Regions from separate parts of the Homo sapiens genome. Here region 2 is linked to region 1. Evidence: promoter capture Hi-C in 16 types of primary human blood cells and fetal thymus (Javierre and others, 2016). All regions are on one chromosome and are shown on one strand. Each heading gives the region's core, a stretch centred on a gene start or on the middle of the fragment in contact. The rest is flanking DNA. Distances are from core to core; before and after follow the strand shown. Region 1 holds the start of MYL11 (myosin light chain 11). Region 2 has its middle 12 kb from the start of ZNF785.

Region 1 (4,374 bases), core at 880-3,379:
AGCCCACGAATTTTTTAGTTAAGTTTTTAGAAACAGGGTCATGCTGTGTTATCCAGGCTGATCTCAAACTCCTGTCCTCAAGTAAATCCTCCTGCCTCTGCCTCCCAAAGCACTGGGATTATAGGCCTGAGCCACAGGGCCCAGCCTTGGTAGAAATTTAAGGAGGCTGTCAGTGTGGGAGCAGCTGGTGGAGTGGGGGAAGGGTCGGAAGGGTGGGGGAGCCGATGCTTACAACTTCTTCTTGATGGTGCCCTTTCCCTCAGGGTCCAAGACCTTGAAGGCTCCGGTGATCACATCCTCAGGGTCGGCACCTGTGGGGGTCAGAGGGCACATGAAGCTGATGGGTCCCTGAAGGGTCTGGGAAAAGGCAGCCGGGGCCTTGGACCCAGGACACTCCACTCACCCTTGAGCTTCTCCCCGAACATGGTCAGGAAGACGGTGAAGTTGATGGGACCGCTGGCTTCCTTCATCATGGCATCCAACTCCTCATTCTTCACATTGAGGCGGCCTGGAGGGGGTTGGGGGAAGCATGGGCTGGAGCAGGCTCCTGGGGCCGGGCCTGCGCTTCCCACTAATTCAGCTGATCCCATTCATTTTTCAGCTGGGTAGACTGAGGCCCAAGGTGGAGCTGACAGGGCTGGAACCCAAGGCCACTGAATTTCCTAGACTCTGCAGCCTTGAATATTCCCACCTGGGGGTAGGGGGCTCACCCATGGCTGCGAAGGTGTCCCGAAGGTCCTCCTTGTCTATAATACCATCACGGTTCTGGTCGATCACAGTGAAGGCCTGGGGAGGGCCGTGGTGGGGAGGGTTAGGTCCCCCATGGCCCAGCCTCAGCATCCCTACCCCAGGAGGATCAGATGCTGGCTCTCAGCCAACTGTCCTCTTCCACCCCAAGCAGAGAGGGGAGGAAGGAATTCTAAACCTTTCCCCTCCTTCAAGCAGGTGCACATTCCAGGGAGAGGGCCAGCAGGGCTGCTTTTGGTCAGCCTTCCAGTTTCCCCGTCCCCTCACCCACCTCTTTGAACTCCTGGATCTGAGTCTGGTCGAACATGGAGAAGACGCTGGAGCTTCCGCCCTCTACTGTCCTTCTCTTGGCCCTCTTGGGTGCCTGGAGGGTGAGGGTTGAACAAAGGGGCCCATGGACCAGTCCCTCCACCTCTCTGGGGGCAATGGATTAAGAGTCAGAATTCTTCGAGTCCCTGTTCCTAAAGCAGCCCTTTGGCCTGAGTCTCCCCTTCCTTGGGACCTCTTTGCTGAGGGGGCTTGCTTTGATTGCATTCCCCAAATTCCCGTCTGTGGCTCCTGGGTCTCCAACTCTCCATCCCCCACAATGGGTGGAAGCTTCCTTATCTTCTCAGTGTCCTGAGCCTAGCTCCTCTGAGCCTCAGACTTGCTGTGTGACCCCAGCCACTCATTTGCCCTGTTTGAGCCTCTACTTTTCTTTTCTTTTTTTTTTTTTTTTTGAGACAGAGTCTTGCTCTGTCACCCAGGCTGGAGTGCGGTGCTGCGATCTCGGCTTACCGCAACCTCTGCCTCCCGGGTTCAAGCGATTCTTATGCCCCAGCCTCCGTAGTAGCTGGGATTACAGGCATGCACCACCACGCCCAGTTAATTTTTGTATTTTTAGTAGAGACGGGGTTTCGCCTGTTGGCCAGGCTGGTCTCGAACTCCTGGCTTCAAGTGATCCAACCACCTTGGCCTCCCAAAGTGCTGGGATTACAGGCGTGAACCACAGCACCTGGCCTGAGCCTCTACTTTCTCATTTGTAAAATGGGATGGGAGTTATTGCCTGGCTGGTGCCAGAGGGCCTTAGGAAGATGGAGTACAGGAATGAATGGATCAGGCTTTGAGAGGGACTGGGCCCCTGTGAGTTGAATGTCTGGGCGGATTATCATTGATTGGATCCTTTAGGCCATCACACAGTCTGTTTTCCATCAGTGATGCCGAGAAAGAGATGAGCATCCTTTTAACTTTTTGTTGGACTGGGAACCAGCTACTTTCTTTCAAAGGGTGAGGCTGCCCTGAGGTCTAAGGGATCTGGGCAGGGGTTGGAGGATTCTCACTCACCATGTCTTCAGTCTCCGGGGGGCAAGGCAGCGGCTCCGGCTGGAAAGAAGCAAGGAGTCAGCATGGGGCAGTCCCTCTGGGGTTATATAGTCCTGCCCCAGGGAGCCCTTAACATACCAAGGTAACCTTAGCCCTGCGGGTGCCCACCCCAGATACCAAAATAGCCCAACTCAGGGCCTCTCCTTTCTTGGAGGGCTGGCAGCAGCTGGAGCCCAGCGGGGAGGAAGGGGGGAGCATGTCTTGCGATGCATGTCTCACTAGGGCCTGGGCAAGAAGAGATGTTCTTTCTCCCAAAGAGGGGCTGGAATGTGCCAGAGTTTAGAGGGGACGCAACCCAAGGCATCATTCTGGGAGATAAATGAACCAGATCCTGTACCCCTGAGTGGGGTGGGCTCAGATTTAAACCCAGTAAACGTCTGGGTGCAGTGGTTCACACCTGTAATCCCAGCACTTTGGGAAGCTGAGGCAGGAGGATTGCTTGAGGCCAGGAGTTCAGGACCAGCCTGGGCAACATAGTGAGACCCCTGTCTCCCTTTTTTTTTTTTTTAGACAGTCTCGCTCTGTCTCCCAGGCTAGAGTGCCAGTAGTGTGATCTCGGTTCACTGCAACCTCCACCTCCCCTGTTCAAGTGATTCTCCTATCTTGGCCTCCCGAGTAGCTGGGATTATAGGTGTGCCACGAAGCCAGGCTAATTTTTTTTTTCTGTATTTTTAGTAGAGACAGGGTTTCACCGTGTCGGCCAGAGTGGTCTCAATCTTCTGACCTGGTGATCCATCCACCTAGGCCTCCCAAAGTGCTGGGATTACAGGTGTGAGCCACTGCGCCTGGCCCCCGTCTCTATTTTAAATTAATAAAATAAACCCAGTAAACATGTATTGAACACACACAGTGTGCCACGTGCTAGGCTGGGCTTTGTGGATGTACTTTGGCAGACACAATCCCTCCACCCCCACATGGTGGAGTTCATAGTCAAGTGTGTGTAAGTGTGAGGGTGGTGAGAAAGAGCCATCTGTGGAAGCTGAGGGATCAGGTGGGTCTCCTACCTCCCTTCAAGGAGAGGGGAATTTTTTTTTCTTTTCTTTCTTTTTTTTTTTTTTTGAGATGGAGTCTTGCTCTTGTCACCCAGGTGGGAGTGCAATGGTGCGATCTCGGCTTACTGCAACCTCCGCCTTCTGGGTTCAAGCGATACTTCTGCCTCAGCCTCCTGAGTAGCTGGGATTCCAGGCACCCGCCACCATGCCCAGCTACTTTTTTTTTTTTTTTTTGAGATGAAGTCTCGTTTTGTTATCCGGGCTGGAGTGCAGTGGCGTGATCTTGGCTCACTGTAACCTCCGCCTCCCGGGTTCAAGTGATTCTCCTGCTTCAGCCTCCCGAGTAGCTGGGACTACAGGCGCGTGTCACCACGCCCGCCTAATTTTTTTGTATTTTTAGTAGAGACGGGGTTTCCCCGCGTTAGCCAGGATGATCTCGATCTCCTGACCTTGTGATCTGCCTGCCTCGGCCTCCCAAAGTGCTGGGATTACAGGCGTGAGCCACCGTGCCCGGCATCTAATTTTTTGTATTTTTAGTAGAGATGGCGTTTCACCATGTTGGCCAGGCTGGTCTTGAATTCCGACTTCAGATGATCCACCCGTCTCGACCTCCCAAAGTGCTCAAAGTGCTGGGATTACAGGCATGAGCCACCGCGCCGAGCCAAGAGGGATTTTTTGAGGCAAGATGCTTTGTGGTCTCAGGTTTTGTGCTGGGCCTTGGTTTCCCCTCTGTAAAAGGGAGATGTAGTTCCCATCCCACAGAACTTGCCTTATAACTAATAGAGACAGGAATGAATGCAGAAACTGACATACCAGAGCTGGTCAGGAGCCCAGAAGTGGAGGGCGCAGCAGCCCTGTCTAGGAGTATGGGAGTGGCTTCACGAGGGCCAGGGAGTCAGGTGCAGGTGGAGGAGCAGATGTGCTGGGCGGAGGGCATGGCCTGAGCAAAGGCCTGGAGAGCGGAAGATCAGAAGTGTTCAGGTGGCCAGAATTGTGATGGGGCTGGTGACCAGCCCCTGAGGGGCCTTTGCCAGGCACAGGACGGAGACCCTGGGGAACCTTGGAAAGGTTTCATGCAGAAGAAGGATGTGATCTAGTATGAGTCTAGAATATTTTCTCTGGGTACTGGTGTGGAGGCTGGAACTCAAGAGGGGAGGAAAAGACCCTAAAAGGACAGCCAGCTGGTCACTTTCTGTGAGGTGCCTTGATAGCCAGTGGCAGCTCACTTTATTCTGGCCAAGAGCCAGCTTGGCTGATTGTGTGACTTTGATGT
Region 2 (4,113 bases), core at 1,332-3,831, 220 kb before region 1:
TGGGAAATAACTTCTGAGCCCGTGGAATATTTTATTTGATTAGTGTTTTTGTATGCCAGAGGTCTTGGCATACAGCATGCCATCATGCTGTACCAGTCTGAACAAATAAGTTTATCCTAAGTGTGATTTATAGTGAACATTGTTTTTTGCTCTGGGGTCTGAGTAGCAGAGATCAGTAGTATGGACACTCCAAGCCTATGTGACTAATCCCCAATAAAAACCCCACACATGGCCGGGCGCGGTGGCTCACGTCTGTAATCCCAGCACTTTGGGAGCGCGAGGTGGGTGGATCACCTGTGGTCAGGAGTTTGAGACCAGCCTGGCCAACGTGGTGAAACCCCGTCTCTACTAAAAATACAAAATTAGCCAGGTGGTGGCACACACCTGTAATCCCAGCTACTTGGGAGGCTGAGGCAGGAGAATTGCTTGAACCTGGGAGGTGGAGGTTGCAGTAAGCTGAGATCGCACCATTGCTCTCCAGCCTGGGCAACAAAAGTAAGACTATCTAAACAAACAAACAAACAAACAAAAAACCAAAACAAACAAACAAAAAAACCCTGCACCCTAAAGCTTGGGTGAACTTCTCTGTTTGGGAACAATCAGCACCTGTTGTCAAAAATCATTGCAGGGAGAAAAAAGCACGTCCCTGTGATACCCCACTGGGAGTAGACACCTGAAAGTTTGTGCCCGGTTGCATCCGGATTTTGTCCCATGTACCTTATCCCTTTGATGATTTTAAATCTGTGTCGTTTTGCTTTAATAAACCATAAATGTAAGTATAACCAATAAATAAAAATAAATAAGCAAAGCCCTTGCCACTCATTACCCAGAACAATTCTCAGGAGTGTTGGCAGCAAGCAAACCTTGAGGGAGAGGTAATGTCTGCATCCAGGACAAAGAGCAGCTTCCTTACTGCTTACTATAAAACAGCAGATGGCTGGGCATGGTGGCTCACAACTGTAATCCCAGAACTTTTGGTGGCCAAGGCAGGAGGATTGCTTGAGGCCAGGAGTTTGAGACTACCCTGGCCAACATAGCAAGACCCCATCTTATTTATTTATGTATTTATTTAGAGAAGGAGTCTCACTCTTGTCACCCAGGCTGGAGTGCAGTGGCGTGATCTTGGCTCACTGCAACCTCCACCTCCTGGGTTCAAGCAACTTTCCTGCCTCAGCCTCCCAAGTAGCTGGGATTACACTCACCTGCCACCATGCCCAGCTAATTTTAGTATTTTTGTAGAGACAGGGTTTCACCATGTTGGTCAGGCTGGTCTCGAACTCCTGACCTCAGGTGATCTGCCTGCCTTGGCCTCCCAAAGTGCTGGGATTACAGGCGTGAGCCACCGCTCCCAGCCAAATCCCATCTTTAAAAAGGAAAAAAACAGCAGGAGCTTCCTGTTCCTCCCCTATGATGCAACTCACTGTGTGTCTAGCATCCATCTGGGCACATCCCACATTGCCCCTGCAGGGGGCAGAAGGGAACCAATGCAGGCATGCTCATGCTGCTTGTTGTGCCCTGAACAGTAAGGTCTTTTGTCTCTGTTTTCTGACAGCATCCATGAAACAATAACAGACCCATTTATTAACCTATAAGTAGGGCAGCCTCAAATTCCAGATCTGACTGTAGGTATTGTTTTCCTTGACCAGATGAGGAAACAGAGGCACAGTGACATTAAATAGCTTGTCGACCGGGCACAGGGTGCACGCCTATAATCCCAGCACTTTGGGAGGCCGAGGCGGGTGGATCACCTGAGGTCAGGAGTTCGAGACCGGTCTGACCAACATGGTGAAATCCCGTCTCTACTAAATGCAAAAACATAGCCAGGCATGGTGGCACATGCCTGTAATCTCAACTACTTGGGAGGCTGAGGCAGGAGAATCACTTGAACCCGGGAGGCAAAGGTTGCAATGAGCCGAGATTGCGCCATTGCACTCCAGCCTGGGCAACAAGAGCAAAACTCCATCTCAAAAAATTTAAAAAAAAATAAATAACTTGTCCAGGATCACATATCTGGGTGACTGTAAAGTCAGCTGCCATGCAATTATTCTAAGACTGTCCTTTAAGATAACTGATGACCTAGTTAACAAATCAGTGCTTCAATTTTTATCTTACATACCTTAGTTTTCCTACTTAAGCTCTCTTGTAACTTAGCTTTCATGCCCCGCATTCTTCTAGTCTTCCTGGTGCCGCTTGTGGCTTCTGCTAGTGCGTACATGTGAGAATTCCTTCCCAGCAAGAAAGAGTCTTGCTCTGTGGCCCAGGCTGGAGTGCAGTTGTGTGATCATGGCTCACTGCAGCTTCTACTTCCCTGAGCTCAAGTGATCCTCCTGCTTCAGCCTCCTGAGTAGTTGGGACCACAGGCATGTGCCACCACACCCAACTAATTTTTTTGTATTCTTTGTAGGGATGAGGTTTCTCCATGTTGCCCAGGCTGGTCTCGAACTCCTGGGCTCAAGCAATCCTCCTGCCTTGGCTTCCTAGAGTGCTGGGATTACAGGTGTGGGCCACCTCGCCCGGCCTTATGTTTTTTCCAAATCCCAAAAATAATCAGTAAAGAAATTGGGAAAATGCAAAAAAGTGATAATTATTTATTATTTGTTTGTTTGTGTGTTTATTCATTTATTATTTTTGAGATAGAGTCTTACTCTGTTGCCCAGGCTGGAGTGCAACGGCAAGATCTCGGCTCACTGCAACCTCTGTCTCCTAGGTTCAAGCAATTCTCCTGCCTCAGCCTCCCAAGTAGCTAGGATTACAGGCGTGCGCCACCACGCCCGGCTAATTTTTTTTTTTTTTTGTATTTTTAGTAGAGATGGGGTTTCACCATGTTGGCCAGGCTGGTCTTGAACTCCTGATCTCAGGTGATTCACCTGCCTCAGCCTCCCAAAGTGCTGGGATTACAGGCGTGAGTCACCACGCCCAGCTCATCTGTATATCTTCTTTGGAGAAATGTCTATATAAATCCTATGCCTGCTTTCATCTTTTTTTTTTTTAATTCTTTTTTTGAGTGGTGTCTTGCTCTGTTGCCCAGGTTGGAATGCTGTGGTGCCATTTTGGCTCACTGCACCCTCCACCTCCCAGGCTCAAGTGATTTTCATGCCTTAGCCTCCTGAGTAGCTGGGATTACAGGTCTGTGCCACAATGCCGGCTAATTTTTGTATTTTTAGCAGAAATGGAGTTTCATCATCTCTGTTGGCTAGGCTGGTCTCGAATTTCTGGCCTCAAGTGATCTGCCTGTCTTGGCCTCCCAAAGTGCTGGGATGACAGTGTGAGCCACCGTGCCCAGCCTCTTTGCCTGCTTTTAAATTGGGTTTTTATTTTTTAGTGGTTGTTGAGTTACCGGAGTTATTTATAAATTCTGAATATTAATCCCTTATTAGACACATGATTTACAAATATTTTCTCCCATTCTGTGGAGTGTCTTTTCATTCTCAATAGTGGTTTTGCTTTTTTTTTTCTTTTGAGATGAAGTCTCACTCCATTGCCCAGGCTGGAGTGCAATGGTGCGATCTTGGCTCACTACAACCTTCACTTCCCAGGTTCAAGCGATTCTCGGGCCTCAGCCTCCCAGAGTAGCTGGGATTACAGGCATGAGCTACCATGCCCAGCTAATTTTTGTATTTTTAGTAGAGATGGAGTTTCACAATGTTGGCCAGGCTGGTCTCAAACTCCTGACCTTAGGCGATCCACCTGCCTCAGACTCCCAAAGTGCTAGGAGTACAGGTGTGAGCCACTGCACCCAGCCACCATTCATTTTAAAAGTTTTGAAAGACACAGTAAAGTTGAAGGACTTTTACAGAGAATACCCATATACTCACCACCTAGATTCTATCACTAACATTTAGTGTATCTGCTTTATCATGTAACTATCAGTTACTCTACCAGTACACTTTGTTTTTGGGTGCATGTAAAAAAAATTGCTGAAATCAGTACACTTCACCCGTAAACATTTCAACATGCATATCATTAACTAGAGCTCCACGTTTGTTTTATATATTTTTTGAGTTAAAAGTACATAAAATGCACAAACTTTAAGTGTATATTTGCTGAGTGTTGACAAAGACGTATACATCTGTAACTGAAACCCCTATCCAAATACATAACATTACCATCATC

The links. The method cuts DNA at HindIII sites, captures the fragments that hold promoters and counts their contacts. A CHiCAGO score of 5 or more calls a contact.
Region 2: a contact is called between a fragment that was not itself captured here and the fragment with the promoter of MYL11 in region 1, in 2 of 17 cell types (erythroblasts and fetal thymus). The highest score is 6.7, in erythroblasts.

The regions. Positions count from the first base shown.
Region 1 is chr16:30,372,557-30,376,930 of GRCh38, reverse strand. It overlaps MYL11 (myosin light chain 11), which reads right to left and starts at 2,129. Exons shown (of 7, transcript NM_013292.5): 1 at 2,071-2,129; 2 at 1,019-1,111; 3 at 711-786; 4 at 404-508; 5 at 233-311. The coding sequence starts at 2,073. The HindIII fragment of the contact is 3,476 bases long and covers 1,347-4,374 here.
Region 2 is chr16:30,595,693-30,599,805 of GRCh38, reverse strand. No RefSeq gene overlaps it. Among named protein-coding and RNA genes, the nearest start is that of ZNF785, 12 kb to the right of the region's middle. The HindIII fragment of the contact is 4,017 bases long and covers 573-4,113 here.